Linked DNA regions of Homo sapiens: regions 2, 3 and 4 are each linked to region 1. The links are contacts of gene promoters, found by promoter capture Hi-C in blood cells and fetal thymus (Javierre and others, 2016). All regions are on one chromosome and are shown on one strand. Each heading gives the region's core, a stretch centred on a gene start or on the middle of the fragment in contact. The rest is flanking DNA. Distances are from core to core; before and after follow the strand shown. Region 1 holds the start of MATN3 (matrilin 3). Region 2 overlaps PUM2 (pumilio RNA binding family member 2). Region 3 overlaps PUM2 (pumilio RNA binding family member 2). Region 4 overlaps PUM2 (pumilio RNA binding family member 2).

Region 1 (2,625 bases), core at 69-2,568:
ACTCCCCATCCCCACTTCCCCTCAGCTCCTGTTAACCACCATTCTTTCTGTCTCTATGAATTTGACTACTCTAGATTCCCCATGTAAATGGAATCATACAGTATTTGTCTTTTTGTGACTAGCTTATTTCACTTAACATAATACTCTCAAGGTTCATCCATTTTGTAGCATCTGCCAAAATTTCCTCCCTTTTAAGGCTGAACAGTATTCCATTGTACGTAGATACTGCATTTTGCTTTTCCATTCACACAAAGAGAGACACTTGGGTTGTTTCCGCCTCTTGGCTATTGTGTATAATGCTGCTACCAGCATGGGGTACAAATATGAGAAGTGAGGTTTAGGATCGTGTGAGGAGGATCACTTGTAGAGGGAAAATAGTGAAATAGGACGACCAGATAGGCTCTGTTGGAACTCGCGCCCATTGTTTTAAGACGCAGCTCAAATGTCACCTGGTTTTAGAAGTCTTCCTGGTCTCCGCAGGCAGTCAGTATCTCTTTCCTAAATCCACCACATTCCCGTAGACAGACACCACATTTATGCAAATCTCCTTCTCACAGACAGTGAGTTCCATGGGGGTCCCCTGGCAGCCTCCAGCCCTGTACCATGCTAACTCTTCCGGAGAGGAAATGGGGCCTCGGGAGAGCCTTTGAAGCCTGTGTTGGTACAGGCTGTCCTTCCAGCTAACGGGGCTCTCTGGGGAATGTATGTTTGACTTTCTATTCCCGGTAATATAAGTTCAAATGTTTGTGGATATTTGAAGCTCGGATGAAAGCGTTTCTATTCATGCCCCTAGAATCTGTGAGGCCTTTTCTTTCTTTTTTTTTTTTTAAACAAGAGCCCACAGCAAAACTTGGGTTACTTGGCTGAGGAAAGGAATGTAGAGCTAGGAGCAGGGTTTCATCTTCAGCCCCAGTCGGGCAAACCAGTGGCAGAAGGGAAAGCAGAGCCCAGGGGTCCCCATCCCGTACCTGGGGCGCAGGCCCCGCTGGGGTGGGAGGGAGAGTGGAGGGCCGGGCAGGCTGCAGCCGCGGATGGCTGCCCCCCCTGCCCCGGTGTTACTGGGAGGACGGAGGTTGCGACAGCAGCCGAGCCCACCCAGTTGCAGCCGGCTCGGGGCTTAGGGCAGGGGCGGGAGGTGACCACCGCGCCGCTGGCCGCCTCGCCCAGACATTCCGTTTCTGCCGCTGGAATGCGCGGACAAGGCTCCTTGTTGGCCTTGGGCGGGGTTCGCCGGGCCGGCCTGGCGCTCGAGGCCCCGGGGCGGGGCGGGGCCCGAGGCCGCGGGACCTTTAAATCCGAGCCTCGCGTGGGCTCCTGGCCCCCGACGGACACCACCAGGCCCACGGAGCCCACCATGCCGCGCCCGGCCCCCGCGCGCCGCCTCCCGGGACTCCTCCTGCTGCTCTGGCCGCTGCTGCTGCTGCCCTCCGCCGCCCCCGACCCCGTGGCCCGCCCGGGCTTCCGGAGGCTGGAGACCCGAGGTCCCGGGGGCAGCCCTGGACGCCGCCCCTCTCCTGCGGCTCCCGACGGCGCGCCCGCTTCCGGGACCAGCGAGCCTGGCCGCGCCCGCGGTGCAGGTACAGGCGGGCGGCGGGAGGGACGCGTGAGCATCGAACGAGGAGAAGCCCAGGGCATCCACCAAGCGCGCTTCATCCCGGCCTCAGGCCGACCGTGGTGCGGGGGAAAGAGGCCCCTCCCGGATGAATCCTGTGGGGGAAACTGAGGTCCAGAGAAGGGGAGGGAGATGCCCAATATCACTCATGTGTCCAGGCTAGAGATGTGGGTCTCCTGAAGCTCTCACTCCCCTGTGATTCGGCCAGGAGCACAGGGCAGCTGGGGAGCGCAGGGGCTGCTGCCCAGCGGCTGCTGCTAAGCTCCGTCCCAGTCCTGACCTCTCCATTCAGTGAGCAAACCCTTCCTGAGACTCTGCTGTTAGTTCTCTTGGAATCTCTCCATCTCCATCCAATATCAGGGCGTGATCTTTCCTCCCCTCCCACAGTCCTCAGGCTGCCTCAGACTGGAAGGTAAGGGATGCGGGTGTGAGACCAGGAGGAGATCCGAGGAGCCGTAGGATACCCCAGGATCAAGACACTCTGGGTCTTTGGCGAACAATTCTATTTCTCTTTTTGGTCAGCAATTGATTCCTGAAGCAGAGCAAAGCTCATAGTGCAGCGAAGCGGGCAGGTCGTCTGACACAGCCCCTGACAGCACATGAAGGGAAACTGAGGCATATCAAGTTGAAGGGACTCTGTGAATCAGTATCAGAGGCCACAATAAAATTCAGGGCTCCGAAATCCCAAGCAAGGTCTCTTTCCACTGCCCCAGCCTACCAACCTCTTAATATGGTTTACATAAGATTGTATCTTCATTTCCAAAAAGCGCAGCTTCAGTCTTGCTAAAAAGAGTCTGTGCCAGGCCATTTCTGGGTATGCAGTCTCATTTGGCCAGCCACGCTGCATGCCTCAGGCTGATTTCAATTGTCTATCCCCTTCTGCATCTTTCTGGATAAGCTGAGAAGGAGCTCAAGGGACTCTTTCCTGACTCAAATACTCAGTCCCCGTATTTGAAGTGGCAGATTTGAAATGGCAAAAGCATTGCTGCTAAGGCAGGAGGTACCGGGGTCCA
Region 2 (2,625 bases), core at 40-2,539, 320 kb before region 1:
CCCCGTCTGTACCACACACACACACACACACACACACACACACACACACACACACACACACACACAGATCAGCCTGGGCAACATGGTGAGACCCCGTCTGTAACACACACACACACACACACACACACACACAAATTAGCCAGGCCTGGTGGCACCTGTGGTCCCAGTTACTCAGAAGGCGGAGTTGGGAGGTTCCCTTGAGCCTGGGAGGTCAAGGCTGCAGTGAACCCTGATTACGTCACTGTGCTCCATCTTGGGCAACAGAGCAAGACCCTGTCTCTTTAAAAAAAAAAAAAATTATATCTTTAACTTTAGAACCACTTTTTAGGCCAGGCACATTGGCTCATTCCTGTAATGCTAGCATTTTGGGAGGCCAAGGCAAGGTGCAGATCACTTGAGTTCAGGAGTTCAAGACCAGCCTGGGCAACATGGCAAAACCCTGTCTCTACAAAAAATACAAAAATTAGTTGGGCATAGTGGTATGCATTTGTAGTCCCAGCTCCTTAGGATACTGAGTAGATGGATCACTAGCCCAGGAGGTCAAGGCTGTAGTGAGCCATAATCAATGCCACTGCACTCCATCCTGGGCAATAGTGAGACCCTGCCTCAAAAAAAAACAAACAAAAAAACAAAAAAACGCTTTTTGTGTTATGTAAACAGTTTTCTAAAGCTTGTCATCTTCATTTCCATCTAAATTATTTGACCTGCTTCTCTCAGACAATACCTAAAGCATCAAAACCCAGCATAGATTGAGGCTGTTTAGTGTGTAGATCTTATCTAAGTAGTATATTTTTCAAAATAAGGCAACTTTTCTTCAGCAGTATTTTGATTCTCCAAATAAGTCAGTTGAGAGGATGCCTTATAAGAGGAGAAACTTTTGTAAGGACCCAAATATATGGTGATTCCCCTTTCAGAGAATTTTAATGGAACAAAAATCTTATGTTTGCACATATATAGATTTGTCTAAATGATGGGGTTGGAATAAAACATTAAAAGATTTGAGCTTTGAGCTAATAGGGTCTTTGAAGGAGATTTTTGGCTTCTGTAAGTCTGTATGTTGACAACACTAATTTTTATGCCAAATTTCATTCAAAACATAAAACTTTACTTTTCCTTATTATAATTGAGTCAGTAATACTATTCTTTGTTATAGAGCTTTTTTGCCTTGCTAGTAAAGCCAGCAGAGGTAACTCCCCCATGAAAGTATTTGGACAAACTAGAAAACAGACTGTTGATTTAGCTCTTGGTTGACCCACTAGCTAAGTGACTTGTTCGTCACTGAAAAACTGTATGATTCAATTTATGCCCTCAGAAAAATAAGAAATTACCAAGAGTTGGTTTGAATAGTAGAAACTTTGTTAAATCTTTAAAGGCTAATGGTCTCCTATAAATACCTAAACCTGGATTTAGATTTACTTTTGTCATGTGAATGAGAAAAAGCATTGCTAAACAAAAAAAGTTTGTTGGCAGATTTGCAATAAAGTGATTTAATTTGCTGAGCAGAAGAAAGTATTCTTTAGGAATTCAGCACTTGTTTGTTTGCCGTAGATACCACGGATGTTCAATGATTATGTTCATTAAAATCAGTCCAGCTGGGTGCAGTGGCTCACACCTTTAATCCTAGCACTTTGAGGGGCTGAGGCAGGAGGGCTGCTTGAGCCCAGGAGTTTGAGACCAGCCTAGGCAACATAGGGAGACCCCTGTCTCTACAAAAAATACAAAAATTTGCTGGGGGTGGTGGCATGCACCTTTAGTCCCAGATACTCCCGGAGACTGAGGTGAGAGGATGCAGAGAGCTATGATTGCCCCACTGTACTCTAGCTTCGGTGATAGAGTGAGACCTTGTCTCAAAAAAAAACAAAACAGTCCAAGGAGGATGATTACGGAGAATATGTCCTAAGAAGCTTAAGTCACTCTGTGTATTGACTTATTTGTGACTCAACTAGGTTTTTATGTAATTTTGTTGTCTTTGTAATTGATGCAAAAGGAAGGTACAGTCTCCAGGCTGTAGATGACAGACTTGGAGAAGTAGTGCCTGTGTGAAGTTGCAATCATTAGTCATTTTGTGTTGGTAAATGTCTTCAGCAGTACAAAAAGTCTAAGCGAAAGCCTTGTTCATTGTCCTTATGTTAAAATAAGCATTGTATGTTAATATATGAAGATATGTAAATACTTAGTCACTATCCAGATACTAATTGATTTTATGATCGGAATTCACATTTCATAAAATATGGTTTTTTTCATTCATTAAATGTTGAACGTTTACATAGCTAAGACAGTCACTAATCCCTTTGACCCCAGAGGTTAATTTCTACTATGGTGTTAATTTATAATTACAAGATTATAAAAGTGTGATTAGTACCATGTGGCAGTAGAGTGCTTTAATACCATTTATTGTATCTCCAAATGCTTTCCCCACCCTGTTTTTAATGTAGGCATATGGTAAGAAATTGAACCAGATATCCAGGAAGAAATAATATTTTTAATTTAAAAAATTTTTTTGAGACAGAGTCTTGCTTTGTCACCCAATCTGGAGTGCAGTGGAGCGGACCATGGCTCACTGCAGTCTTGACCTCCCAGACTCAAGCAGTCTTCCCACCTCAGCCTCCTGAGTAGCTGGGACTA
Region 3 (2,625 bases), core at 45-2,544, 290 kb before region 1:
ATTTGTGTAAACATTTTTATGCCTGTCTGATTTTGTCTAAGTTTGTATGAAGACTGTCAACATCAGAGTCTATGGAAGGGGGTTGTCTTTCCTTAATGTCATATTCTTCTGTGTTAGTGCAATAAGGCTTCCTAAGCCCTAATTTTTATTTTTCAGTTTTTTTGTTTGTTTATTTTGGAGAGAGAGTCTCACTCTCACCCAGGCTGGAGTACAGTGGGGCAATCTCGGCTCACTTCAGCCTCCGCCTTCTGGGTTCAAGAGATTCTCCTGCCTCAGCCTTCTGAGTAGCTGGGATCACAGGCGTCTGCCACCACATCTGGCTAATTTTTGTATTTTTAGTAGAGACGGGGGTTTTACCATGTTGGCCAGGCTGGTCTTGAACTCCGGATCTCAGGTGATCAGCCCCCCCTCGGCCTCCCAAAGTGCTGGGATTGCAGGTGTGAGCCACCGCGTCTGGCCTATTTTTTGTTTTCATCAAAAATGTCAGGCTGCACAGTGGCGCCATCCTGAAATCCCAGCACTTTGGGAGGCTGAGGCAGGTGGATCACCTGAGGTCAGGAGTTTGAGACCATCCTGGCCAACATGGTGAAACCCCGTCTCTACAAAATTACAAAAATTAGCTGGGCTTAGCAGTGGGGGTCTGTAATCCCGTCTACTTGGGTGTCTGAGGCAGAGAATCGCTTGAACCTGGGAGACGGAGGCTGCAGTGAAGCAAGATTGCACCACTGCACTCCAGCCTGGGTGACAGAGAGAGACTCCGCTCAAGAAAAAAAAAAAAAAAAAAAAGTCCACATTTATAGGTGAGTGCCAGTCGCAGCATGTACTCTGGCCCCGTTTCTTTCCTCTTTTTGCCTCTCTTTCCTTTTTTCCCCACCCGCTTTATCCCTTGTTTGTCCTCTTATGTTAGAAATGTACTGCTACCTGTCTATTCATGGACAGCACAACGGTTTTTATTTCTCGAGGCTTTATATTATTAGGCAGGCTAATACATCTATTACTCTTCTTTTTTGGGGTTTTAAGTTTTTGGTTCTTGCTTATTTGCTTTTTTGTATGAACTTCAAAATTAGCTTATCTACTTCCAGAAGATAGGATTAAATGTTGTAATTTACTTAGGGAAATTTGACATCTTTATGCCATCAAGCATCAGGTTTTTTTTGTTGTTATTGTTTTTGTTGTTGTTTCTTTGACAAGGAGGTCTTGTTGTTTGACCCAGGCTGGAGTGCAGTGGTGCAGTCTTGGCTCACTGCAACTGCTGCCTCCCAGGCTCAAGTGATCCTCTCGCCGCAGCCTCCCGAGTAGCTGGGACCACAGGTGCACGCCACCACACCTGGCAAATTTTTTGTAGAGACAGGGTTTCACCATGTTGCCCAGGCTGGTCCTGAGCTCAAGTGATCCACCCACCTCGGCCTTCCAAAGTGCTGGGATTACAGGCGTGAGCCACCGTGCCCTGCTGACATCAAGTATTCTTGTCCAGGGTGTGATGTGTCTTTATTTTTGTTCAAGTTTACTGTAGTGTCATTTGAGTGCTTTAAAATTTTTCTCATAGGGGTTTGCATATTTCATTCTAAGTTTATTTTATGTATTTTATGTTTTGTTATTGTAAATGGCTTTCTTCCTGTCTTTCATTGTAGCTTTAAAGTGTTATCTATGAAAACTCAAGTACCATATATCAGATTTCATGAATGATATTTTAAAATAGTTGAATCGTCTTCCCATTCTTGGAATAAAAAAGACTTGTATATAATAATTATTTCTTTTAACATACTCTTTCAATTTGCTAGTATTTCATTTAGGATTTTTGCATCTATATAGTTAGATGAAATTAGTCTCTGTGTATCTGCAGTTTTTTCACGTTTTTTAGTGTCAGCATTCTTGCTTCACAAAAATAATTTTAGATACGTCTTTTTTTTTTTTTTTTTTTTTTTTTCGAAGACAGGGTCTTACTCTGTCACCCAGACTGGAGTGCAGTGGTACAGCCTCAGCTTCCCAGGCTGAAGCAATCCTTTCATCTCAGCCTCCCACATAGCTTGGGACTATAGGCTCGAGCCATGATGCCCAGTGAATTTTTTGTAGAGACGGGGATTCACCCTATTGTCCAGGCTGGTCTCGAACTCCTGGGCTCAAGTAATCCACCTGACTCAGCCTCCCAAAGTGCTGGGATTATAGACATGAGCCACTGCGCCCAGCCATTTCTTTCTTATTTTAATGCCTTAGAGTATTTTAATAATATTGGACTTACGTAATCTTTAAAGATGTGGCAGAACTTTCATGTGTGAGAAACCTAATATAAATAAATTTGAAAACCTAGAAAGCATAGTGTATCAAAATTGACCCCACATTTTAACTCAATTCCACAGTTAAGCAAATTCATTATTGACAATCTTTTTTATCCAAATTTGCCTGGTCACCTCTTAGCTGGCCAATAGCTCATTTAGAAAAGGACTAGTCGATAGAAATATGTATAATATGTACCATATAATTTGCAGTTATTTAGTAATCACATTTTTAAAAATTAAAAAATAGGTGAAATTAATTTGAATATTTTATTTAGCTCATATCCAAAATATTGCAAAATGTAGTCAATATGGAACTTACTAATGAGAATTTTTGCATTCTTTTCTTTAT
Region 4 (2,625 bases), core at 82-2,581, 280 kb before region 1:
ATTAAGAAGAGTGCCTCTGGCCTGCATGTGTTTGCTGTGTCCTGTAACTCATTGATCCTCCTAGGCTCTTGATGCTGGCCCTATTACTCATTTCTTAGGCACGTGCCACCACACCCAACTTTTTTTTTTCTTTTGTATTTTTAGTAGAGACGGGGCTTCACCATATTGGCCGGCTGGTCTTGAACTCCTGACCTCATGATCCACCCACCTTGGCCTCCCAAAGTGCTGGGATTACAGATGTGAGCCACCACGCCCAGCCACACAACATGTCTTAAAGTGGATTACTTAATCTTTTGAGCCACAACTTTTTAGCCTTTTTAGAAATACAAACGAAAAAACCACTCTCATAAGAAGGGCCTTACTAGGATTTGTATTTGTATGTTTCAGTGACTTTTGGGCTGTTCACATGATCCCCTCACACTAAAACTTTCTTTGATGCCTTCTTTACTTCATTGTGCCCAGACTATGATGATGAAATAATTCTCATTTTCCATATCCAAATAGTTACATAGTTATAAAGCTAATGTGTATACTAAAAAGGGCTCACTTGAGAAAATCGATGTTCCTTCAGGCCTCATACTTTAGCTCTTCTTTCTAGCTTTCTTCAGTACTTTATCAGATCCCTAGTTACTGTTCTATTCTTAACTCTTCTGCTTTATATCCTGTGTGCTATTGTTTTTCCGTCTTGAATCTTTAGTCTTTCCCTCTCCCAATCCTTCCTTTCAACCCCACTGTGCTATTCTGCCTGTTCATCCTAAAAAGCTTTATCTCTGCTCTGCTTCCCTCATGGACTATTTGTCAAAATTTATACTCTATCCCATAACTTTTAAATTCTGCCTCTATAATTCCTTTGCAGTATCTCTAATATAACTTAGTGACAGTTACAAAGTATAATTTCCTCTGTATCTTTTTTTATGCTCAGTTTGTTGCAGTTCACCCTGTTGACTGTGTCCAACTCTTTGTAACTCTTTTCTGCGGAGTGGTATTTCACTCATAGCCTTTTCACCTCTCATTGCTTTTTTATCAGTCTCTGCTTCCTCTATGTATATCCTTAAATATAAAAGACAGTCTGGCTTAATGGCTGCCTTCTTCAGAGTCAGATTTGCTGTATTTCCACCACATAGCTATTGTTTAACCGTGCCCAAGTTATTTTCCTTTTTGAATTTTCGTTTCAGATAGGAAAAGTGGAGATACTTTAGACTTATTCCTCAGGAGAGTATATTTGCATTAATCCTTTCAACTATTATCCCTGTGAATTTACATCTGCATCTTGGATTCTTTTCTGAACACCTAATACATGTCTGTCCTTATACCAGACATTTCTACTTTTATGTTGCAGGCACTCCTCAAATTGAAAATGTCAGAAAATGAACTCACATTTCCAAATTTTCCTGTCTACTGTTTACCTTGTTTCACTTTACTTTCTCTAGAACTAGAAACTCTTGGCTGCAACTTCAAAGTTACCTTTAACTATTGGTTTTCTTCTGTGCCTCCACATCCAATAACTTGCCAATTCTCTACCATTCTGTCTCATGGTCATTTTTATTTTTATGGAGACAGTGTCTGTGTTGCGAGACTGGTCTTGAACTCCTGGCCTCAAGCAATTTTCCTGCCTTGGCCTCCCAAAGTGCTGAGATTATGGGCCTACCAAATCTCTCAACTTCCTTCATAGTCCTGTGCTTTAATGCACTAGACCATATACTGTTACCCAAACATACCATGCACTTCTATGCCTCTAGTCCTAGCTCATGTTCTTTTTTTTTCTAGCTTAAAATACCCCTTTATAAATTTTAAACAAAATTGGTGTATATAGTTCTTGCTTTTTAAAATTTCAGCCCATAAACATTTTGTGATTAACTATCCTTCTCATCTTTTAATATGGTCCCTTTCATGAAGCTTTCCTCAATCTTTCCCAGTGCTCATTCATTGATAATTACTCCCTTGTCTGCTCTCTTTGGTATATTACTTGCATCTTCTTTTAGTACTTCTGTGTGCCTTGCATTTCATTTAGCTATTTGTGGTTTATTTTCACCATTCTACAACTCTTATTTTAATGTGGTCGTAGATGGGAAATGTCTTAGAGAGTTTTGTTTCTCTGAAGGGAAGTTGTTAGATCTATGTCATATGTTAAAGTAAATGGCATTTTAGAATTAAGAAGGGGTGTGTTTCCTCCTGTGCTAGATTGCATAATTCTTGAGTACGAGGACCATGTTTTTTTGTTTTTGTTTTTCAATTCCCCATGTCTTGTCTTCATTCTTCCCTACGTCGTTTTTTTTTCCTTTTCCCACTCTTCATACATTCATCTAACCAGTCACAGACTTTCTCAGTAGCAAAAAGATAATTCAGATGAGATCAGGCACGATCAGGGTTGTATGGCCATAGACAAAAAGAATGGAAATTAGCAACTTTTGAACAGAATTACAGTGAAAATGCTGCATATTTAAACTTGTGGATTAGAACAAAAACATAGCATAGAGAATATATAGGTTTTAATGATTACATTAGAAAATTAGGCTGGAAATGAATGAGTTAAGCATTTATCCAGAAACTCTAAAAAAAAGAGAGAGAATAAAACCAAAGAATGTAGAAGGAAGCAAATAATAAAAATAGGAGCTGATATGAATG

What was found. Contacts are between HindIII fragments. The CHiCAGO score rates a contact against its expected background, and 5 or more counts as called.
Region 2: a contact is called between a fragment that was not itself captured here and the fragment with the promoter of MATN3 in region 1, in 1 of 17 cell types (M2 macrophages). The highest score is 5.0, in M2 macrophages.
Region 3: a contact is called between a fragment that was not itself captured here and the fragment with the promoter of MATN3 in region 1, in 1 of 17 cell types (M2 macrophages). The highest score is 5.2, in M2 macrophages.
Region 4: a fragment that was not itself captured here is called in contact with the fragment with the promoter of MATN3 in region 1 in 5 of 17 cell types (M2 macrophages, M1 macrophages, M0 macrophages and 2 more); the score reaches 10.6 in M2 macrophages.

The regions. Positions count from the first base shown.
Region 1 is chr2:20,011,361-20,013,985 of GRCh38, reverse strand. MATN3 (matrilin 3) reads left to right here and starts at 1,318. Exons shown (of 8, transcript NM_002381.5): 1 at 1,318-1,577. The coding sequence starts at 1,355. RefSeq lists an enhancer at 1,602-2,214. The HindIII fragment of the contact is 3,809 bases long and covers 1-2,625 here.
Region 2 is chr2:20,334,190-20,336,814 of GRCh38, reverse strand. The region is part of intron 1 of PUM2 (pumilio RNA binding family member 2); the gene reads left to right. Among named protein-coding and RNA genes, the nearest start is that of PUM2, 15 kb to the left of the region's middle. RefSeq lists an enhancer at 2,611-2,625. The HindIII fragment of the contact is 1,234 bases long and covers 673-1,906 here.
Region 3 is chr2:20,304,766-20,307,390 of GRCh38, reverse strand. All of the region lies in intron 7 of PUM2 (pumilio RNA binding family member 2), which reads left to right. Among named protein-coding and RNA genes, the nearest start is that of PUM2, 45 kb to the left of the region's middle. The HindIII fragment of the contact is 2,974 bases long and covers 1-2,625 here.
Region 4 is chr2:20,286,645-20,289,269 of GRCh38, reverse strand. The region is part of intron 10 of PUM2 (pumilio RNA binding family member 2); the gene reads left to right. Among named protein-coding and RNA genes, the nearest start is that of SDC1, 63 kb to the right of the region's middle. The HindIII fragment of the contact is 1,134 bases long and covers 765-1,898 here.